Regions from separate parts of the Homo sapiens genome. Here region 2 is linked to region 1. The links are contacts of gene promoters, found by promoter capture Hi-C in human tissues and cell types (Jung and others, 2019). All regions are on one chromosome and are shown on one strand. The core of a region is centred on a gene start or on the middle of the fragment in contact, and the rest is flanking DNA. Distances in the headings are between cores, read along the strand shown. Region 1 holds the start of GNRH2 (gonadotropin releasing hormone 2). Region 2 overlaps DNAAF9 (dynein axonemal assembly factor 9).

Evidence for each region. The method cuts DNA at HindIII sites, captures the fragments that hold promoters and counts their contacts. A contact is called where the count stands out against the background at its distance.
Region 2: a fragment that was not itself captured here is called in contact with the fragment with the promoter of GNRH2 in region 1 in 1 of the 25 tissues and cell types used here (lymphoblastoid cells).

Annotation. Positions count from the first base shown.
Region 1 is chr20:3,039,625-3,046,409 of GRCh38, reverse strand. GNRH2 (gonadotropin releasing hormone 2) reads right to left here and starts at 2,788. Exons shown (of 4, transcript NM_178331.2): 1 at 2,745-2,788; 2 at 1,842-2,002; 3 at 1,574-1,710; 4 at 663-724. The coding sequence starts at 1,995. The coding sequence ends at 674. MRPS26 (mitochondrial ribosomal protein S26) reads right to left here and starts at 358. Exons shown (of 4, transcript NM_030811.4): 1 at 130-358; 2 at 1-37. The coding sequence starts at 341. RefSeq lists a silencer at 1-716 and an enhancer at 817-876. The HindIII fragment of the contact is 17,170 bases long and covers 1-5,925 here.
Region 2 is chr20:3,252,643-3,259,427 of GRCh38, reverse strand. DNAAF9 (dynein axonemal assembly factor 9) reads left to right here. Exons shown (of 37, transcript NM_001009984.3): 34 at 3,217-3,422; 35 at 4,144-4,209; 36 at 5,609-5,702; 37 at 6,744-6,785. Among named protein-coding and RNA genes, the nearest start is that of SLC4A11, 17 kb to the right of the region's middle. The HindIII fragment of the contact is 6,428 bases long and covers 450-6,785 here.

The DNA.
Region 1 (6,785 bases), core at 1,539-4,038:
GTGCACCTTCCTCTGCACCTCGGACACGAACTCCATCCTGGGTGCAGACGCGCCAGGAATCAGCACCCTCTCCGCCCACTCCCACCGTCACCAGCGCGCGCGGGCGGCCACCTCCCCCCGGCCGCACACCTGAGGGCGCGCACGGTCTGGCGGTAGTGCTGGTAACGCTCCATCAGCACGAAGAACTCCGCAGGGTCCACCGCGGGCGGCATGTTCACTCGCTCGATCTTGGATTTGGCCAGCGGGTCGTGGCGGGTCTTGCGGCCGCGCGCTGGCAGCACCAGAGGGGCCCGGGGCCTGCACGGGGTCCCCGCGCCCAGGCGGCTCAGCGCGCGTAGCATGGCCGAGTCTCCTCACTGCGGCCGCGGTGCCGGGACGCCACCGTGCCCCGGAAGCGGCGCGGGGAACCTTGGGACCTGTAGTCCTCGGGCTGTCCCTCACGCCCCGCCCGGCCGTGTGGCCTCTGGAACCGAAGCGGCGACCCTGCGGACGTCCGCATCCCGCCCCCAGGCTCTGGCCCGGCCTTCCCGCCAGGGCCCGGGGCCATCCCTTAGTTACTCCCGCCCGCGGGGCCGGACCCGCGTCCCTCCAGCCCCCACGCAGGGAAGGGTCTCAGCGGGGAAGACAGGGAGGGGACGAAGGACAGAACTCGACGCAACAGCTTCGGAGAACCTCACACTTTATTGGAGGATGGCGGGGCGGGGCGGGGCTCTCGGGCTGCGGTCTGCGGAGGGAGAGGTGGCGGTCATGTCTCAGGACACTGGTCTCGTAACCGCCGAGCTGCCATCTTCCTGGTTCTCTCCCCTCTCGTCCCCCCCAGTCCCCATGTGGCCTCCCACAGCAGGACGCCCCCCGCCTCCCGTAGAAGCCTGAGGATCCAGCTAGTGTGGGGATCTCCAGCTCCCTTGGGCATGCCCTCTTGTCCACCCTAAACAAGCCTGACGCATAGAAACCTCAGCACATACACACAAATCAGGCGGTAAGACATTGCCTCATAGGAACTAACCACTTTCTTCTTTAGTTACCGGGCTCTCCTGATGCACTGTAAATGTTTGATTTGCAAAACAGTAGCAAACCATTTCCCCACGCCTGTCTTCTGCTATGGTCTTGGGGAGCTCTGCAGTCCCTGAGATGTTCCTAGTGCACATGTCAGTCACCACCTGGTCCTCTTGGCCCTGTTGTCTGTTTGAGTGAGGTTGCATCCCTCACCTCTTTCCACTGGCCTGGGGTCTGTCCACCTCAAGACAGTCATTGGCTTGTCAGGATGCCTGTGGGATCCCATGGCCACCACTGTCTTATAGAACAATTATCTCCTTCTAGTCTACTAGTGACTTTGGTCTTTAACCCAAGTGCTTTGTAAATTGTCTAGAATCCTCCTGGGAAATAGGAAGGATAGCAGACAGCACCCTGCTGTGTGCAGTAGGGGCACTGAGAAATGGCTGGGGGTGCTGTGGCAGGGGGCATCTCAGTGGTGTTTCATTCTCCCCACCCTCCCAGCACCCAACCCTAAGCCACAATGGCCTCTGATGACCAGTGGCTGGTCTTGATGCTGGGGACCTCTCACCCTACTCACCAGCAGTGTCCGTGCCAGGTGTCGCTTCCTGTGAAGGGACCACTGGGCCGTGGTCCTGCCCTCCCAGGGCATGCTGTCGTCCAGGGGAGCCAGGGCATCACTTGGGAGGCCATGGGCAGTCTGGACTGGGCTGCCTGCTGCAGTGTCCAGGGCCCTTCCTTAGAAGGGAACTGATGCTGTCCTCCCTACCCCGACCTCAGGCTCCAGGAGGGTGGGGGAGCCCCCGGCCATCACTTTCTTCCTCCCCATGAGGCTGGGAGACACCCACCTGGGGGCCTAAGGGCATTCTGGGGATCCTGGGCTGAGCTGAGGGCTCGCTTTCCTCCAGGGTACCAGCCATGGGACCAGTGCTGAGCCTCTGAGGGTCCAAGGTGGGCAGTCAGCAGCAGCAGGAGCAGGAGGCCTCGCCTGGAGCTGGCCATGGCTGCTCTAATGGACAGGGTACAGCATTCAAGGAGACTTACCTCACCCCCACATCCCCCTACTTCCTCCAGGGCCACTTTGGAAAACTGGCATCTCAGGGGCAGCTTTGGTATCTCCTTATGCCCTTCCCTCTCTGCCACCGCTCCTCATCCCAAGCATACAGGGGTCCAGATCCTGGGGGATCCTGGCCCAGCAGGGGATGATGCTCCAGGGGACGAGCCTTCTCCCTGAGCCTGGGGCACAGAGGCTACCTGCCTTGCCAGCTCTGAGGGCCCTCCCACTTGTCCAGGTCCATCCATCTTTCCTTCAAGGAGTTTCCAGAAGTGGAAGAAAGTTGGAGGGGAACAGAGACCTGAATTCAGGCCAATGGATGGGAGGATAGATGGATGGTCAGGGGAGTTCTCAATGTAGGCGTGTTTGGAGCACCAGTGCTAGGGAACCAGAGTTGCAGGCCTTCTGCCCTTTTCTCCGTGGCCTGCTGTATCTCTTCCATAGTAGTTGGGGATGTGGAATGGATGAGTGGTATTGATGGGGGCAAGTGCTTCTACCCCTTATCCCTCCCATGCCAGGGGCAACAAGCACAAGAATAGATGGTAGAGCTGTTGGGGAGAGGAGAGGAAAAGGGGACTTCTCTGGCATGGTTCAGGGGTGGAGGCACCTGGGAATGGGGAAGAGGAGCAGCACACCATACGCCCAGGATGAAACTTGGTCCAGGTGTCCTAGCCCTTAGGGAAGGCTCCCCACTCACCAAGGAAGAGCTGTGGATGAGATGGCTCCTTCAGGCAGCTGCAGGACCCTAGCCTGATGGCCCCAGGATTTATAGACCAGGCAGCTCCACCCCCAGACTCCAGTGACGTCTTCAGAGGGGAAGAGAGAAGCTCACCACCCAACCCGCTTCCCAGAGCATCCAGTCCATGAACATTCACCAGGCAGCTGCTGCCCTGAGGCCACCGACACATGCTCCCTCCCCACCACCTTCCCAGGAGCCTTCAGGCCCAGGACTCTTGCTTTAGGCTGGCCTATGTCCTGGTCTCACCTTCCCACTTCCCAGGCTGCATCTTCAAGCTCCTGATCTTGAGACCTAGAAAGCCCTCACAGCCTTCCCTGATCCCAAAAGAGAATTGTGTCCTGGGCAGGGGCAATGCCTGGGGGCTCCCCAACTCCCAGCTCAGGGCTTTCCCTGGTGGACAGTGGAAGCCTAAGAGTAGGGAGCCTGGCAGGCTGTTCAGAGGTACAGGGGAGGCTGTGACCACTCTCCCAGAGGGCTTCCGTTTGCTCACTGTAGAGTGGGTTGGGTGGGACAATTCACATCCACACACCTGGGAACCAGGGCTGGGTCACTCCAGATGGCTGGGTTTGGGTGGGGCAGTACCTACCCCGGAGTGGCTTCTCTCCTGGCGAAGAAGCGGGCCCATGAGATGGGGCCCAGCTGTTGGGCCAGTGCAGTCTCCCTAGGTAGGTAGAATAATTTTGTCCCTCAAGGCTCTAACCCCTCCCCAGTCATGGATTTGGACACAGCTAGCCTGGGCTGCTGGAAGTGGGCTCTTGCTTCCCAGTCTGCGTCAGCAGCTCAGCTTTCCTTGGCCAGCCATCAGCCTCTGGGGGTCAGAGGCCTGTTTACAGGGTTCATAGCCAATCTCCGCACTTGGGCTGAACAGCAAATGGGAGGGCCAGGGTCATTTGGAGAGCTGGTGCGTCAAATCCTGTGACAAAGATGGGGGAGGGGAGGCATAATGGGCATCAGTCAGCCCTAGACACCTGGACTTCAGCAGCCAAGGCAGGATGGGCACACCTGTGAACTTCCAGACTGACTTATTAGCAGGGACCGGAAATCAACGTGTGGCCCATTTGTTCAGTTAAATTGTTTTGGCTTAAATATGCGGACTTTGTTAACTGGGTGATTTTTAGGGAAACATTTGCTTGTGGTTTAGTGAAAATGAATCTGAGTTCGACGTACTAGTTTAGTTCTGGTTGGGGTTTACAGAATGCTTTCTTCAAAGATGCACCAAGGCTGGTGTACCTTTAAAAGGGGGATGGTTGCCTTTATTTATTCTGTAATTTGATTCCGGCTTTTCCTGAAAAATCTAAACCAGAGCCAAGCTTCCTGGGGAAAGCTCTGCTCCCTTTTTTTTCCGGCAACATACTTAGCTTTTAAGAAATGTTTGGTCCTTTCCAGACTAGAACTGTGGAACTCTTGTATCCCTCTCATTAGAACATAGAAAGCCATCTGTTCACCACGGAGCTCCAGTCCTCAGGATATGAAGTCACTGCAGCCAGGAGCTGCGTGTACTCAGGTGGGAAAGCAGAGGTTCAGAGGTGAATAAACACTCAGGTGCTGCAGGAGCACAGAGAGGCACAAACCCTGAGCAGGCGGCCTGGGTGAAGGACAGAGACGAGTGAGCTGGAGTCACGGACGCAGGGAGTGGCAGCAGAGGGGTGCAGCATAAGGAACAAAATGGAGAAGGGCCAGCAGGAACTGCCGTGGATCCATGGGGCCAGAGTATGTGGGAAGGTTAGAGGAAAGGAGGGCGGGCCCCTGGGTGTGGGCAGTGGGAGGCAGGCATCTCTGGACCACCCTGACATGCGACCAGGATGCGGGGGACTTGGGATTGGAGGAGAGCTGAGGGTCCACAGAGACAGATCCAGAATCCTGACCTCTGAGAGAGGAGACAGTGGAGGAGCAGCTAAAGGGTGAGGATAAGAGGCAGAGGACAGCCTGTGACACAAAGGGGAAGAGACCATGGGTCCCTGGTGTTTAGCACCAAGGTGACCTTGGTGCGCAGGGATGGAAAAGAAATGTGTGGGAATGAAGTGAGGAAGGGGGAAGAGTGAGAACACAGGTTTCTGCAAGTAGTCTCTCATAGAGGGAAGAACTTAGGCCTGGGGTGGGAGACATGCTCTTTATTTAATTAATTAATTAATTCTTTTTCTTTTTCTTTTTTTTTTTTTGAGATGGAGTCTCGCTGTCATCCAGGCTGGAGTGCAGTGGCGTGATCTCAGCTCACTGCAGTTTCTGCCTCCCAGGTTCCAGCAATTCTCTTGCCTCAGCCTCCCCGGTAGCTGGGATTACAGGCACGTGCCACCACGCCCGGCTAATTTTTGTATTTTTAGTAGAGATGGTTTCACCATGTTGGCCAGGCTGGTCTCGAACTCCTGACCTCAGGTGATCCGTCCGCCTTGGCCTCCCAAAGTGCTGGGATTATAGGCATTAGCCACTGTGCCCGGCCTATTTTTTTTTTTTTTTGAGACAGGGTCTCACTCTTTGACCCAGGCTGGAGTGCAGTGGCATGATCACAGCTCACTGTAGCCTCCACCTCATGGGCTCAGGTGATCCTTCCACCTCAGCCTCCCAAGTAGCTGGGACTACAGGCGTGTGCCTCCATGCCCAGATGATTTTTGTTATTTTTTGTAGAGACAGGATCTTGTCATGTTGCCCAGGTTGGTCTCGAATCCTGGGCTCAAGTGATCCACCCGCCTTGGCCTCCCAAAGTGTGGGATTACAGGTGTGAGCCACTGCACCTGGCCTGCTCTTTATTTTTAATGAGAGAGACTTGAGTATTTGGGACAGGGGAGCAATGAAGGAAACTGCAACCCAGGAGGGACCCGCCCAAATGAAGTGAGGTCTCAGTGTGGCAGGATGTAGGGCTTTGGGTGTGTGGTGGGTGCAGGCTGTTACTCTTCCCCTATGGAGAAACACTCCTACCCTAAGCCCCTTGGGTCGCAACTGACTGGCTGTGGGAAGGGCACTGGATGAAGCAGTCACTGCTGCCTTTTCCACACGACTGTGCTGTGTGAGCTTCAGCACATTTTCCTTTTGGCCTATACTAGTTTCTGTTGGGTTCACCTCTCTTGTAAACATGCAAGCCCCGAGTAGAAAGTAAAAGAGGAGTGAAGAGGGAGGCATGAAGGGATGAGGGACACATCTACAGGCTGAGCGAGACACGGAGCAAACAGCTGAGGTCATTCCTACCTGGAGACAATGGTTTTGCACCCAGGTGATGCCTATCCACTGGCCAAATCAGCACGGACTTCAGCAGAAAACCACTCAGGCCATGGTGGCGCACCCTGCTGAAGGCCAGCCCTGGCAATGGCAGGCAGCCTGCTGGGAGGCACACAAGCGCCTATGAACGGCCTCACCTGCACATTCACTGAGTGGCTTGCTGACCCAGTGCCTGCCCTCCTGCATCGACTTGGACTTGGTCACACAGAGCACTGAAGGGTAGCTTGCAAGGAGCCAGGGGCTGCTCCCCAAACTTGGCACCCCTCACCAGAAATTCCTCAGAATCTGTCTTTGCCTAATTTATCCATACTTATCGAGACTGCTGAGTTTTAAGTTTACTGCCTCTTGGGAGTTCGTTAGTTCCTACAGAACTGAATGTCTCTAATGACTCACACTCACCTCCTGTAAACTTCCAGAGGGGGTCTGTTGCAGCCCTTGCCTCCTGCAGGTCTCCTGGGTCCCTTCCGCACATCTCCTTCCTTCCCACAAACATCCTGGGTATGTGGTGCACAGACAGGCTTCCCTCCTGGAGCCACTACATGTTAACTGCTTTATCTGGACTCTGAGGCCCTCTGTAATGTGGCTCTACTTCGCCTTTCCTCCTTTTCACTCATCTAAATTTCCAGCCTCCCATGGGTCCAGCTCAAGTCCCACCTCCTCCAAGAAGCACAGTAGTGCTGATCCCTGAACATGCCTCCATGGGCCAGGCTGAGGTGCCATCTCTCACTCCAGAAGCCTCTGAGGAGCCCAGGCCTGCGCTGGCTCTCAAGAAAGGCCCTGCCTGACAGC
Region 2 (6,785 bases), core at 2,414-4,913, 210 kb before region 1:
ATGATGTGAGTTCAGAGCCTCTGCTGGTGCTCTGCAGACCACTGATGCTGCTCAGACTCTCAGAAACCTTCCCCACCCTGGGCCTTCACGCCATCAGGCTTGTCCATCACCCCTCTCCGCCAAGGGCCTACTTAGTCTGGGTCCTCCTGTTCCATGGCAGAGGTTTGCCCTCCTCGCCTGGATGACCTGCTCAGGGGCTCTTCTCACAGCTTTTTGACCTTCTTGTTCAGAGCCTTACACTCCACACCTCTTGAGCCAGTCATGGCCTCCTCTAGACCTAAAACCAGGAGCTGCCCCAGTGCTGAGCTCTTCAGCTCTAGATCCATTTCTGACCAAAGTCTTTGAGCTTCTGTTTGCCTTCTCCTCTCTTCTGACTAGTAGGCCTGAGGATCAGTTTAGACCTCTGGAGCCCTTGCTGTCCTGGAGTGGGCATCAGAGAAGGCCTCAAAACCAGTAGGAGTCAGTCAACTCAATGTTGAGGAAAGGTACAGTATTCCAGGGGAAGGAAATAGCATTTGCTATAATCCAGAGGCAGAAAAGACACATTTCAGGAACCAAAAAGCATTTACCGTAACTGGAGCCTGGGAGTAGGGAGAGAGGGAGTGCGTCTGTTAGGGTGTCTTCAGCTGTTATCACAGAGAACCCCCACTCAGCTAGCAGGTGTTGGCTGTATAACAAGTGAGGCGCTCAAGCAGCAGAGCAAGGCCACTGAGGAGCCAGGTGATGTATGTCTTCGTGTCCTCCCCTTCTTGGTGTGTCAGCTTGTCTTTCAGGTTCCTGCCCCTTATGGTTGCCAAGTGGTGCTACAGGTCTGGGTGTCAAAGCCAGACACTGCATCCAGCCAATGAGGAGAGGCTGGCTCTTCCTGTGGGTGCCTTTGTCAGTGCAGCGCCTCCCCCAATTTCTCTGCCGACTTATCTCATTGGATTGCTGTGCCTTTCTGGACCCATCACCCATGGGGTATTGGTATTGGAAGAAGAGGGAGACAATATGGGGGGTCGGCAGCTATCAGTTTCTGCTGTAGGGGACCACTGAGGGCTCCAAGCATAGAACCATCATGGTTCAGATGGGAGAATTACATGGGTCCTTAGCTCATAGCTTTTGCTTGATTTATGTGATCAAATCAGAAACTTCGGCCCCACACCCAAGCCCACTAATCTCAGGCTCCAACAGCCAGCCCCTGCTGCTTCAGAGGTCTTGGTACTTTTGTTTTTCCCTCTCACCCATCACCTCCTTTTCTTCTTTTTTTTTATTTCTTTTTTGGCTGGGTGCAGTGGCTCACGCCTGTAATCCCAGCACTTTGGGAGGCCGAGGCAAGAGGATCACTTGAGGTCAGGAGTTCGAGACCAGCCTGGCCAATATGGTGAAACCCCATCTCTACAAAAAATAAAAAAAATTAGGCCAGGCTCGGTGGCTCACACCTGTAATCCCAGCACTTTGGGAGGCCAAGGCAGGCAGATCATTTGAGGCCAGCAGTTTGAGACCAGTCTGACCAACATGGTGAAACCCTGTCTCTACTAAAAATACAAAATTAGCTGGGTGTGGTGGCGGACACCCACCTACTGTAGGACACCACCTAGCTGTAATCCCAGCTACTTGGGAGGGTGAGACAGGAGAATCACTTGAACCTGGGAGATGGAGGTTGTAGTGAGCCAAGATTGTACCACTGCACTCCAGCTTGGGCAACAAGAGCAAAACTCTGTCTCAAAAAAAAAAATTAGCCGGGCATGGTGGCACATGCCTTTAATCCCAGCTACTTGGGAGGCTGAGGTAGGAGAATCACTTGAACCCAGGAGGCGGCCGTTGCAGTGAGCCGAGATTGTGCCACTGCACTCCAGCCTGGGCGACAGAGTGAAACTCCGTCTCAATAAAATAAATAAATAAATATTTTTATTTCTTTCTTCTTTTTATTTTTTGAGACAATGTCTCACTTTGTCACCTAATCCAGAGTATAGTGGTTTGATCTCGGCTCACTGCATCCTTGACCTCCCAGGCTCAAGCGATCATCCTACCTCAGCCTCCCAAGTAGCTGGGACTATAGGCGTGAACCACCATGCCTGGCTGATTTTTTTTCTTTTTTGTGGAGACAAGGTCTCCCTATGTTGCCCAGGCTGGTCTCGAATTCCCGGGCTCAAGTGATCCTCCTGCCTCGGCCTCCCAAAGTGCTGGAATTAAGGTATTAGCCACCACACCCAGCCTCTTGTTTATTTAGATCTGCTATTGACTCTTTTTTTGTTCAAATTTAACCTCGCTTTTTTCCGGATCCTTTCTCATCCTGCCTTTCAGGGAGCCCTTGCCCACTTCTTGGGTCTCCAGTCACTCCTAGCCCTCATCTCCTTAGCATGTAACACTTTTTCCCATTCTCATCTGTGTGACCTTCGTGCAACACTGCTGTACTGGTTTTTTTGTCTGTTTTGTTTTGTTTTTGAGACAGGGTCTTGCTCTGTTGCCCAGGCTGGAGTGCAGTAGTGCAATCCTAGGTCACTGCCCACCCCAGCCTCCCAAGTAACTGGGACTACAGGAACATACCATCACACCCAGCTAATTTTTTTGTTGTACTGTTGGCTGTGCCCTCCTCCCTTGGCCTCTGAGGCCTCTGCTGAGAGCCCCCCACTTCTACCAAGGGGGTTTCTTTGCTTTTCCTCAACCACCTCTTCCATAACAGCTATTCCAGCAACCACCAGGGACTATGTGGATGTCTCACGCTCAGGGTCTTAGAGACTTTCAAATGCCACAAGTGCAGAGTCAAACTCTTCCTCTTCTCCCACCTATAAACCTTTTTTTTCTCTTGTGTTTCCCTTCTGGGATAATAGTGTCCACCTGATCACCCAGATCAGCCAAGCCAGAAACTTATTTTGTTCCTCTCTGTCTCTCTCTCTTACTCCATCCTTTCTTTTCCTTTTTAAAAAACAAAACAAAATGGGATCTCCCTCTGTCACCCAGGCTGGAGTACAGTGGCGCAATCTCAGCTCACTGCAGCCTTGAATTCCTGGGCTCAAGTGCTCCTCCTGCCTCAGCCTCCTGAGTAGCTGGGACCACAAGCATGAGCCACTGTGCCCACCTACTCCATCCTTTCTAAGCTGCCACCAGTCACATCAGTTCTGTCTCTTGCATTTTCTCATGAATCTATCCCAACCATCTGCATTGTCACAGTCTTAGCATAGCTGTATCCTTTCAAGGCAGGCTCTCAGGGACTAATGTGTATTCTCCTTACAGACTCTGAGAGGACCATGGAGGTCTGCTACAACACACTGGCCAACTCCTTGAGCATCATGCCAGTTTTGGAAGGACCCACACCACCACCAGACTCCAAAAGCGTATCTCAAGACAGCAGCGGGCAGCAGGAGTGCTACCTTGTGTTCATCGGCTGCTCCCTGAAGGAAGACAGCATCAAGGACTGGCTGCGGCAGTCAGCTAAGCAGGTGGTTTCCAGAGCCCAGACAGACCTGACACAGATGTGACCAGACACCTCAGAGCTGCTGTTGGCCCTGAGAAGCCCCGCCACTGCCTCCCTGATGCCTCCCCACTGGGCTTCCTCTCCCTGGCCCAGCCAGCACTTGCAGGGACACTTTGAGAGAGGGAGGAAGCCACTGAGAGCAAACTCCAGGCAGGCCTGCTATGTTGTTTGCTTTGTGAGCCAGGTTCTCTGCAAGGTTTGGGTGCTAAGCCTTGTAGCACAGCCTTGGGGGTTTAGTTCATCCTAGAACTCTGGGACTAGAGTTAGCTGGGGCCTGGCTCTTCTGCAGATGCTCACTAGGGACCTGTCTTTATGCTGAGGGATGGGCTGCCTCACTTGGATAAGCTTCTAAACGGTTCTTGACTGTGGGGCCTCAGACTGCCCCTTTGTCTGCCTCTCATTGGTAGGGTTGAGGGATAAGAATCTACAAAGAGGCACGACCATTCCCATTTACGAAAACACTGGGCTGTCCTCTGCTGCTTGTTCCCTGCTGGCTCACAGGGCTCTGTGATGGGAAAGTGGTTTTCTCAAAGAGCAGACTAGACAGAATATTATATCCAGGCCATAGCGCACGTGCTTTCCCCACTGCTGAGATCTTAGTTGTGTAATAGAGCCCAGAGCCCTCCCCTGCCCATGCACTCCATGAGTTCTGCTGGGACCTGACCCTCCACTCCCCATCTCTGCAGAAGCCTCAGAGGAAAGCCCTGAAGACCAGGGGGATGCTGACGCAACAGGAGATCAGGAGCATCCACGTGAGTGCCTTGCCCTGGCTTCTCCCCTCGGTGGCCCAGGGCTGTCCTCGGCTTGCCTAGCTCTGTATTTTGGATTCTCTGAGTGAGGAGCTGTTTGTAGGACATGCTGGAGGTCTTGCTTCTCCCAGGCCACAGAGGGAAGCTGCGTACAGAATTCTGGCCTTTGCAGCCTCAGTGAGGAGGGCACAGGAGACCTCTGGTGTGACCTGGGCATCAGATTGAGTAGAGCCAGTACTTGTGGGAGAAGCTGATGACCAGAAGCCCTGCCTTGGCACCTTGTTCAAGCAACTGCAGAAGACCTATGTTACAGATGAACCAGCTAGAGCCCAGGCAAAAACTGTCTGGATCCAGAGGCTGCTCATAGGAAGGCTGTGGAACCTGAGGCCAGGATAAGAGGCTGATTGAGAGACCCCCTTGATGAGCCTCCCAGCCTCCAGGCTCTGACCCCCAGCCTCTGCTTCAGTCGCCATGCTCACTGGGGCCTTTTCCTGAGGGGTTTGGGGACAAAAAGCTAAAAAGGACACAGAGTCTAGGTCCCCAGGATGCCAGTAATGAGCAGGTGGGGCAGGAAAGTATTCTGGGACTCCAGGAGCCCCTGCTTTGGATTTGAGGAGGCCCCTTTCATAAACAGCTCCTATAGGCCCGGACAACCTGGGTGCTCCTGGGGAGGACAACATGGGCATAAGGTAGTCCTTATAATGCATGTTCCCCTGAAAGCCAACCGTGAACAAGGAGTTAAGTACAGGTAGTTTATTTTGGAAGTGATTCTAGGAGACACTAAATAGGAAACAGGAGGATGAAAGAGGAGAGGGGGAAACAGCCAATAAAGAGTGTGTTTGTGGCCGGGCATGGTGGCTCACGCCTGTAATCCCAGCACTTTGGGAGGCTGAGGTGGGTGGATCACTTGAGGTCAGGAGTTCAAGACCAGCCTGATCAATATGGTGAAACCCTGTCTGTACTAAAAATACAAAAATTAGCCAGGCGTGGTGGCGCATGCCTGTAATCCCAGCTACTCGGGAGGCTGAGGCAGGAGAATTGCATGAACCCAGGAGATGGAGGTTGCAGTGAGCCAAGATCACGCCACTGCACTCCAACCTGGGTGACAAAGCAAGACTCTATCTCAAAAAAATAAATAAATAAATAAAAGAGTGTGTTTGCACATCAGTACCACTGCACACCGTGGGAACTTCATCCCACTAGGACCTCCCAGAGCTCCTCACCTGAGAGGTGGGGAACCACCTCAGGCAGGGCTTGAGGTTTGCCGGGGGTGTTAGCTTCCTAGCTCCTCTGTATAGCAGAGTAGTCTATCTTGCTAGGGAAATAGACTTGTTTGTTTTAATGAGTGAGTGAAGTATAGAAAGTAGTCAGATAATTATTACAGGTCTCTTTTCTCCTACAGGTAAAACGCCACTTGGAACCCCTACCTGCAGGCTACTTTTATAATGGCACCCAATTTGTTAACTTCTTTGGTGACAAAACTGATTTTCACCCACGTATCCTTGGAACAGCGTGGTCCCTGTGTGGAACCCGGGCAGTGAGGCTGGGAGTGTGTGACCCTGTCTGCAAAGCGGTTGTCTGCCAGAGCCATGCATTTGAGCCCCAGGAGCACTCTGCATGTCCACTGATGGGTCAGGAATGCACAGGGGCAAACCTCAGGGGCGAACTTTTCATTTCAGTCTCTAAAGCTGTTAAAGTTAAATTGCTCCTTTATTGAGTGATTGCTAATGTGACTCTGGGTTATAGTTTTTTGGTTTTGTCTTGTTTTAATTTTTTTTTGGAGATGGAGTTTCACTCTTGCTGCCCAGGCTGGAGTGCAATGGCGCAATCTCAGCTCACTGCAACCTCCGTCTCCCAGGTTCAAGTGATTCTCCTGCCTCAGCCTCCCGAGTAGCTGGGATTACAGGCGCCTGCCGCCGTGCCCGGCTAATTTTGTATTTTTAGTAGAAACGGAGTTTCTCCATGTTGGTCAGGCTGGTCTCAAACGCCTGACCTCAGGTGATCCTCCCACCTCAGCCTCCTGAAGTGCTGGGATTACAGACATGAGCCACCGCGCCCAGCTTAGAGACTAGGTCTCGCCATGTTGCCCAGGCTGGTCTCAAACTCCTGGGCTCAAGTGATCCATCTACCTCAGCCTCCCAAATTGCTAGTATGGCAGGCATGAGCCACTGCGCCCAGCCTGTGAGTTATAGTTTGGATGCAGCTGCGGTGATATCCTGAAGTCTGTCGTCATCAGAGTCACGATTTACAAGTCGAAGACAGCCTAATTACAACAGTTAACCTGTGAAAAGATGGATAGGGCTGAAGCTGAAGGGCTCAGTTCTAGGACCTCATTAACATCCCTGTGACAACAGCCATTGCATTCTTTGTAGCTGTGGTGCTGCCAGTATATACAAAGAGTCCATCAGGTTCCCTCTCTATGGGCCAGACACTCACTTCCTCAGCAAACCCCCCTCACCTGCCTACAGGCCGCTCTGGGCTCAGGCAGCCTCCCTTGTCCTCCAGGCTCAGAGCTCTCTTCCTTAATGAGATACCAGTCATGGACCAGTTCATGAATGACTACGTGGAAGAAGCCAACC